Regions from separate parts of the Homo sapiens genome. Here region 1 is linked to region 2. Evidence: promoter capture Hi-C in human tissues and cell types (Jung and others, 2019). All regions are on one chromosome and are shown on one strand. Each heading gives the region's core, a stretch centred on a gene start or on the middle of the fragment in contact. The rest is flanking DNA. Distances are from core to core; before and after follow the strand shown. Region 1 overlaps CTNNBIP1 (catenin beta interacting protein 1). Region 2 holds the start of KIF1B (kinesin family member 1B).

What was found. The method cuts DNA at HindIII sites, captures the fragments that hold promoters and counts their contacts. A contact is called where the count stands out against the background at its distance.
Region 1: a fragment that was not itself captured here is called in contact with the fragment with the promoter of KIF1B in region 2 in 1 of the 25 tissues and cell types used here (dorsolateral prefrontal cortex).

The regions. Positions count from the first base shown.
Region 1 is chr1:9,888,931-9,893,006 of GRCh38, reverse strand. All of the region lies in intron 1 of CTNNBIP1 (catenin beta interacting protein 1), which reads left to right. Among named protein-coding and RNA genes, the nearest start is that of CTNNBIP1, 19 kb to the left of the region's middle. The HindIII fragment of the contact is 3,526 bases long and covers 1-3,013 here.
Region 2 is chr1:10,207,651-10,211,819 of GRCh38, reverse strand. KIF1B (kinesin family member 1B) reads right to left here and starts at 1,250. Exons shown (of 49, transcript NM_001365951.3): 1 at 942-1,250. RefSeq lists an enhancer at 1-117 and silencers at 1,019-1,538, 1,569-1,648, 1,735-2,029. The HindIII fragment of the contact is 21,697 bases long and covers 1-4,169 here.

The DNA.
Region 1 (4,076 bases), core at 1-2,500, 320 kb after region 2:
AAGTTAATGGGATAAACACATGGGAGATTCTGAAGGGGTCTTTGTTTAAAGCATTGTTGATTTTGATTATTGGCTTGTTAAACATTTGGAGAGGAAGGAAACTGAGTCCTCAACAGCCTCTTAGGGGGAGGTTTCCTCCTTCCTTGGATTATGTTTTGTTCCGAGGTAGCTGGAGGGGAAAGGATCAGGAAGGTCGCCTCCTGCTTAGTAGAGCAGAAGCAATCACCCAAACAAGCAAGCAGTGTGGCTCACGTGATGCGTGGAGCCAGGAACCCTGGCCTCTGTAGCACAGATGGGTGTATTTGCGAAGTAAACAGATACACCTATATCTTTATGCAAATTAACACATACCTTTATGCTGACAGCCTGTTGGAAAGAGGCAGTGGCCTTAAAACTTCTTTTCTTTTTTTTTTTTTGAGACAGTCTCGCTCTGTTGCCCAGGCTGGGGTGCAGTGGTGTGATCATAGCTCACTGCAACCTCAGACTCCTGGGCTCTTGGGATCCTCCCACCTCAGCCTCCCAAGTAACTGGGCCTACAGGTGCAAGCCACTGCACACCCAGCTAATCTTTTTTTTTTTTTTTTTTTAGACGGAGTCTCGCTCTGTCCCCCAGGCTGGAATGCAGTGGCGCGATCTCGGCTCACTCCAAGCTCTGCCTCCCGGGTTCACGCCATTCTCCTGCCTCAGCCTCCCGAGTAGCTGGGACCACAGGCACCCACCACCACGCCTGGCTAATTTTTTGTATTTTTAGTAGAGACGGGGTTTCACCGTGTTAGCCAGGATGGTCTTGATCTCCTGACCTCATGATCCGCCCGCCTCAGCTTCCCAAAGTGCTGGGATTAGAGGCGTGAGCCACCGCGCCCAGGCTGCACCCAGCTAATCTTTTAAAGATTTTTTGTAGAAGCCAGGCTCGGTGGCTCATGTCTATAATGCCAGCACTTTGGGAGGCTGAGGTAGGCAGATCACATGAGGTCAGGATTTTGAGACCAGCCTGGCCAACATGGCAAAACCCTGTCCCTACTAAAAATACAAAATAAAATTAGCTGGACATGGTGGCACGCACCTGTAGTCCCAACTACTCGGGAGGCCGAGGCAGGAGAATCACCTGAGACTGGAAGGCAGAGGTTGCAGTGAAACGAGATTGCGCCACTGCACTCCAGCCTGGGCGACAGAGGGAAAGAGCGAGACCCCATCTCCAAAAAAAAAAAAAAAAAAAAAAAAAAAAATTTAAAGAGATGGGGTCTTACTTTATTGCCCAGGCTGGTTTTGAAGTCCAGGCCTCAAGCAATTCTCCTACCTCAGTCTCCCAAAGTGCTGGGATTACAGGCATTTGCCACTGTGCCCAACAAAACTTATTTTCCGAAGAGTTTGATTGGGAAGCGTTTCCCCAGGAGGCTGCACCTGGGGTCTCTCAGCCAGGTCCTGAGGATGACCATCCCCAGAGCCGGGTGGTGAGGAGGGGGCTGCTTCCGGGGGCACAGTCCTGCAGCCGATCCAATTGATTTAATGACCTAATCCTCACCACAGGAAGCTGGAGGCTTTCCCAGCCCTGGGATTCTGAGGGGATGCAGCAAACTCAGTTCAGGAAGCTTGTTTGTTTGAACCAATTATAGAGGCTTTAATGAGGGAAAGCTATGGAGGGAATGGGGCAAGGGGAGAAGAGCTGGAGAGAGAGGTGCCTGTTGAGAAGATCTGGGTGACCCTCAGGCAATGGGAGGGCCGGGCCATGCCCAGGCCTGCCTCTGAGGATGAGGCTTGTCCTTGTGGGAATGGGGTGGCGTGAACATGTCAGTGTGGTTCAGAGTGAAGGGACCTTATGTACCTTGTGGAGAAACGTGAGTGCCCCCCACCCCCGCCAAAAATAGCACTGTGTCAGTTTTCCCCCTTTCTTCTTGAAGTACTTTTAAATTTCCTAATGTAATTAAAATTTTAAGCTGTGACCCTGCAAAGAGCTGGCATAGCTTTTGACAGCGGGATTGATGGAGCTTCCATAGGTCAAAATTTCCAGTCTGATCGCACTCTCTGGAGGTGACCCGCACTCTCTGGAGGTGACCCATGCTCTCCAGAACCTCTGGGCCAGGCTCCATCCCTGGAATTACTAGGTCTGGAAGTGGTCCCTTCCTGACAGAAATGCAAATTAATTTGCCTTTTGGGGACTTAGTCAGCTTGCTGGGGATCTCTCTGGTGTCCCAGGAGAGAAAAAGCGTTCCTCTACCTCCAGTTGACACAGAGGATCTTTTGATGCCTTTGCTCAGGAAGCTTCCTGCCAGGTGCACAGCCCATGGGGAAGGTCGGTCAGGCCTGGGAGGCCTCATACCCAGGAGTGAGGGGGCGCTTGTACCCATGCAAGAGCTAGGATTCCAGCCCTTCCATTGGCTTATAAATAGAAGAAGGCTCTGGATTCTGCATTAGTAACCCCTCTGGAACCTGCCAGAGGCTGAAGGTAATGAGTCAGACTGAATTAAAGGAAGATCCGTGGCTGGATTTTGTAGGCGTGCTGGTTCCTGACTTCAGGTCTCAGGCTCTGACTTGGCCAGGTTCCAGGGCTCCAGCTGTTCTCTGGGAAGAAAAAAGAACCTCTTTTAAAATTAAGCCGAAAGATGCCTTTCTTTTCTTCTGTCCTTGTCCCCCCACTGTGCAGAGAGAAAACCTCCACCAGCACGTCCCCTTGGTTAGAACAGTAGAGCCTGAAGACATAGCCCAGGATCTTCAGTGTTCTGGGGCAGCCAAGGAAACTTCCTCAGGCTCCACATGCCTTCCTGTTTGCATTGTTTTCAGCTGAATTTCAAGAGGCTGTCAGAGCAGGCCTGCCAGGTACTCTTGCCTCTGTAAAAAGGTGGGTTTCACTCAATTCAGGACTGGAGAGACAACGAGATCTGGGCCAGAATCACAAGGATAAATATTTTAAACCAGAAGATGTAAACAGATGCCTCATGCCAATCCAGTTATAGGAACATGCAGGTTCCTCCAGCTCCTTGGTGTGTTAGGATTATCTGAAGTGAGGCCATGCAAAGGCTGGGGGGCACTTCCTTCATGGTTCCCATTCACTTCACCACTCGAGGAGCCCCAGTTGTGGCTAGCAGTGGTGTCTCACCTGTCCAGATTCTTCAGCACAGAGCCTTACAAGTTTTTCTAGGGTCCACAAAAATATTGGCCATGTGGGAAAAAAATATATCACTCCCTCTACTCTTGTGAGTTACGTGAGGATTACATTTAATAAGAGATGTGGGTTTGTTTTAGTATGTCTCTGAGAATAAGGTTCCCTGGGGCCTATAAAGGCCTTAAAACCACCCCCGGTCTGTCCTCAAAGAGCTTCCAGTCTGGTGGTGAACATTTCTCAGATATCCAGGTACAGTGTTGGGGCGGTGATGCGAGAAGAGGAAATGCAGGCGGATGTGCAGACACAGGCCTCGAGGCAGCCCAGAGAAGGTGTTGTAGAGCAGAGAACATCTGTGAGGCTTGGTCTCAGGAATCAGGGAGGGAAGGAAGTTCTAGGTGGAAAGCATAGCAGATGCAGAGGCCCAGAGATGTGGAGGGAGCCTGGTGCAATCGGCAGCTCCGAGATGGCCCCCTAGTAGGGCTTCTCACTCAGCTCTCCAGACGTGGGGCTGGATAATTATTGGTGGTGGGCACTGATCCTGGCCTCTACCCAGCAGGACCCTACTAGTCGTGACAATCAAAAATGTCTCTAGATATTGCCACATTTCTGCCGTGGGGCAGAATCGCCCCCATTGAGAGCCACGGCTGTAGAGGGAATATGAGGGTAAGCTTGGATCTGACCGCCTGCCTCAGTGCGTGGGAGGGACAGAAGGAGCCCTTTCTTTTTGCTTCCTGTCCAGCGTGCAGGTCCTGGGGAAGCTGTCTCCAGGCAGGTTTGTGCCTGTGCTGGAGCACTTTGGTGTGTGTGGCATGCCTGCTGGTGGCCTGCAGAGCTTGCTCTGAACAGGAGCCCCTTCATAGAAAGGAGGATGCCCCAGTGGTTCCAGGCGCCTCCCTCCCAGCCTGGTTGCCGTGTCAGTACCTTTCCTGCAGTAGGTAGGCGGCTCAGCTGGGTGCAGCATTGCATTCTGGCCATTG
Region 2 (4,169 bases), core at 1-2,500:
GCCCCCGCACTGGACGCAGAAGATGAATAGAGAAACACGGAATTTCACCCCAACAAGAATGGAATCTTGAAGGCAGTTTACCTTGGAAGCTCATTTAGCAATCAAGGAAAAAAAAAAAAAGGGATCTGGAAGCTCCATTCTGGCGTTAGGGGCGGGAATGTTTTGTGTTGCATGAACAATGACTAGCTTGCTCAAGCAGCCTCCCAACCCCCACAACTTGGCTTCTGGTCTGGCCAGTCACCCTGAAAGCTGCCAGGGCTGTCACTCGGTGCCTTCCAACAACTGGACTTGGCTCCTAAAGGATTTGTCAGATCATCCTCCCAATATGGCTGCCCGAGTAATCCCAGTCGGCTGAATGCCGAGACCACACCAGCCTTCCTCACACCTGGCCAGCATCCAACAAGCCCCCTCCCTTCCTATCGCACCCCTCTTTCCAGGCCTCGAGCCCTCGGCTCCCCCAGCGCCAAGCGATGACCTTTCCTATCGCCATCTGGCAAAGGGCATAACCACATTCCCAGCCGAAGCCCGATGCCCACCACAAAGGAGGAAAGGGGAGAGGGAAAATGAGAAACGATGGCTTCAAACGAAGCACAGCCGCCCCCCGGGCTGCAACGTGCGCGGAGCCCAGGGAACGGCCAGGCAGCGGCGGGTCTGGAGAGCGCTGGGCACAGCCGGGGCCTGGCAGCGCGGGGGAAACGGAGGGCCGGTGCAGGGCACTGCGGGGGCCCCAGCCGACCGCTGGACGCCGGCCCGGGACTCGCTGCTGGCCTAGGGAGGGGTCCCCTCCCCCGAGGGCGAGGCTCCCGCACCCGGCGCCCGTCCCGCGCTACCTCCCCTCAGACCCCGCCCGGACCCCGGCCCGGCCGCTCCTCCCCGCGGAAGCGGCCCCCTCCCCAACCCCGCGACCGCGGCGCCAACCGCGGCCAGCCCCGCCGCCTTACCTCAGCCGCGCTGCAGACCGACGGGCGGACCGGGTCAACAGGAGCCGCGGCGCGCGGGGGCGCGGGGGGCCGGGCACCGACGCACCTCAGCGCGAGCAGCGGCCGCCGCGAGCCGCAGGGCGCCGCTCCGCAGCCCCATCACGCAGCAGCCCGGCACCGCATCGAGGTGGGAGGTGGGCGGTGGGCGGCGGACAGGAGTGCGCGAGTGCGGGAGGCCAGGGCGCGGCGACGGCCGGCGGTGACGGCTGCGGAGGACGGGGAGCTGCTCCGACGCGCGCGGGCGCCTCCCAGGACCGCTGCCGTCACACTGCCCCGCTTCGGCCCTCGCGAAACTCCGCCCGCAGTCGCCGGCGCGGGACACCGCCCCGAGCTGGGCCTCTGCGCGTCACCTCGTATCCGCCCCGGCGCCCGCGACGGACACGGGCTGTGACCAATCACAGCACAGAGCTCGGGGCGGCCAGCCAATCGTAGGGTGAGCCGGGGAGTGGGGCTGCTGCGGGGGGCTGCAGGAACATCGAGCGCCCCCTGGTGGCCCTCGGGCCGGCTCAACCAGGGGTGCGGGCTGGCCAAAGCCGGAGCCCGGAGTTCCCTCCCGGGTGACCCCCAAGGGCATTCGTCGGAATCAGCCGCCCCCAGCCACCCCGATAATCCGCCTTATACGGGGACAAAAGATTGACTGAGTGGAGCGGGGCGGGGCCCAGGGGTCCTGACGCCCGCAGAGGAGCTGGGATCAACATGGGAGGCGCCGAGAGTGGAATCATTGTCCGTCGGAAAACATCTCGCAGGCGGAACCGGCCGAACGCGGCGCGGTGGGAGCGGAACCCCGAGAGGGGATGAGCGCATCCCGCGGGAAGCTGCCTGGCCTATTCTTACAGAACCCGAGCAAAACACCTCCCACGCGCCACCTCGGGAGAGAAGGCGGAATGAGTAATGGAAAAGCATGACTTGGTGGGCATTCCACTTGTCTCCTTGGGAGACCGCGGAAGGGCTGTGAGGAGAGGAACAAACGCTTTGCACCGTCCCTGAGTTAACGAGCCCAGCCCCCTTCTGGGAGATGCCCTTGAAGGAGGGAGAGTGGAAGTTAGAAACCCGGAGGACACAAAAGCACGAGCAGTGATTTCTTTAAAATCAGATTTAGATTCAGCTGGAAAGAAAAATCTCACTGTTCAGAAACTGTTCAATTCAGTACTTAACAAAATATAATCTTCAGTGATAATATATTCAATTATCAGGCCCAGGCCGAGCACTATTACTTTATAAGGTTGTGAATTATTTTTATTTACTAGCAGACATTGAAAGTAAAATCACATGTCTTCCCCTGAATTAAATACAGTATTATTGTGAGTAAAAGGTATTATGTACAAGCATATGCACTAAAACATCGAAATTAATTTTCTACACTAATAATTCTGGAAAATCTCCACCACCACTCAAGTCCTCAGACTCTTCATCCGCTTTTATTGATCACGTCTCATTTTATAGAATTTAAGCTCCACCTACCTGCAAAAGGATTTGACATAGCTTACACTAAAGCATACAGCAGTGAAACCGTATAGCTTTAAAATAGGCGTAAAATTCATAATAATGAAACAAGCAAGAGACTTTTTAAAAGCTGTTTGAATGAGAGGCATGCCTAGAAAGAAAAATTTTTTTGTTTTGTTTTGAGACAGAGTTTTACTCTCGCCCAGGCTGAGCTCAGTGGCACGATGTCAAATCTCTGCAACCTCCGCCTCCCAGGTTCAAGCGATTCTCCTGCCTCAGCCTCCCGAGTAGCTGGGATTACAGGTGCCTGCCACCACGCCCGGCTAATTTTTGTATTTTTAGTAGAGACGGTGTTTCACTATGTTGGTCAGGTTGGTCTTGAACTCCTGACCTCAGGTGATCCACCTGTCTCAGCCTCTCAAAGTGCTGGGATTACAGGAATGAGCCACCGCGCCCGGCCAGAAAAACAATATTTTAAAAATCCATAGTCAAGGAAATATGTTGCCACTGAGCACAGAACTCAGCTCTTAGCTTCCTGACGGCTAAGAGTAAAATGAAACTATAGTAGGTTAATAAAGAGGAACTCATCAATTCAACAGTAGACACCACTTCATCATAGCGTGGACCTCCTTGCGTAAATACTGTGGTGAGCGCCATGGAGAGTTACGAAAACCTGGGTGGCTGTATTGCTTGAGCTCTCAATGGAGCACAATCTAAAAAGAATCTAAAACGTAGTGAAGAACCAGGCGCGGTGGCTCACGACAGTAATCCCAACACTTTGGGAGGCTGAGGCGGGTGGATCACTTGAGGTCAGGAGTTCGAGACCAGCCTGACCAACATGGCAAAACCCCATCTCTACTAAAAAATACAAAAATTAGCCAGGCGTGGTGGGCACGCCTGTAATACCAGCTACTTGGGAACCTGAGGCAGGAGAATCACTTGAACCCGGGAGGTGGACGAGGCGGCAGTTGCAGTGAGCTGAGATCCTACCACTGAACTCCAGCCTGGGAGATAGAGTGAGACTCTGTCTCAACAAAAAATAAAATAAAATTTAAAACAAAAACGTAGTGAAGAGGGTGTGATTGTGATTGGCAGGAGAAGAAGCTAGCCAAAGGGCACACAGAAGGCACAGAAGGGTCAATAAAGGCAAAGAAGGCTGCTCCAGGATCCAAGGCCAAACAGCCCACTCTGCATAAGCCTTTTGCCTCTCTGACAGATGAAGTCACACTGCCCAGCCAGTTTCTCAGATTACAAATTCTGTATAAAAGCATCTCTTTAAAATGATAAATAAATTACTAGAAAATTGAATGTAGCCATGATCTGGTAGGGCTGTCTCTGGAATGCAAGGATACGAGAACATCAGAAGTCCTAGTCACGTGGTGCACTGCCACTCTCCCATCACAATCACAATCACAATCAGGTTTCTGGATACAAAATCAATACACAAAAATCCGAAGTGTTCCTTTTTGATAGGAAGACTTTATTATTACTATTATTTTAGACAGGGTCTCACTCTGTCACCCAGGCTGGAGTGCAGTGGTGTGATCACAGCTTACTACAGCCTCAACCCTTGCCCCCTGGTTTAATCCATCCTCCCACCTCAGCCTCCTGAGTAGGTGGCACTATAGGCACACACCACCACGCCCAGCTAATTTTTCTATTTTTTGTAGAGACGGCTGGTATCCAGCTCCTGGACTCCAGTGATCCATCAACCTCAGCCTCCCAAAGTGCTGGGACTACAGGTGT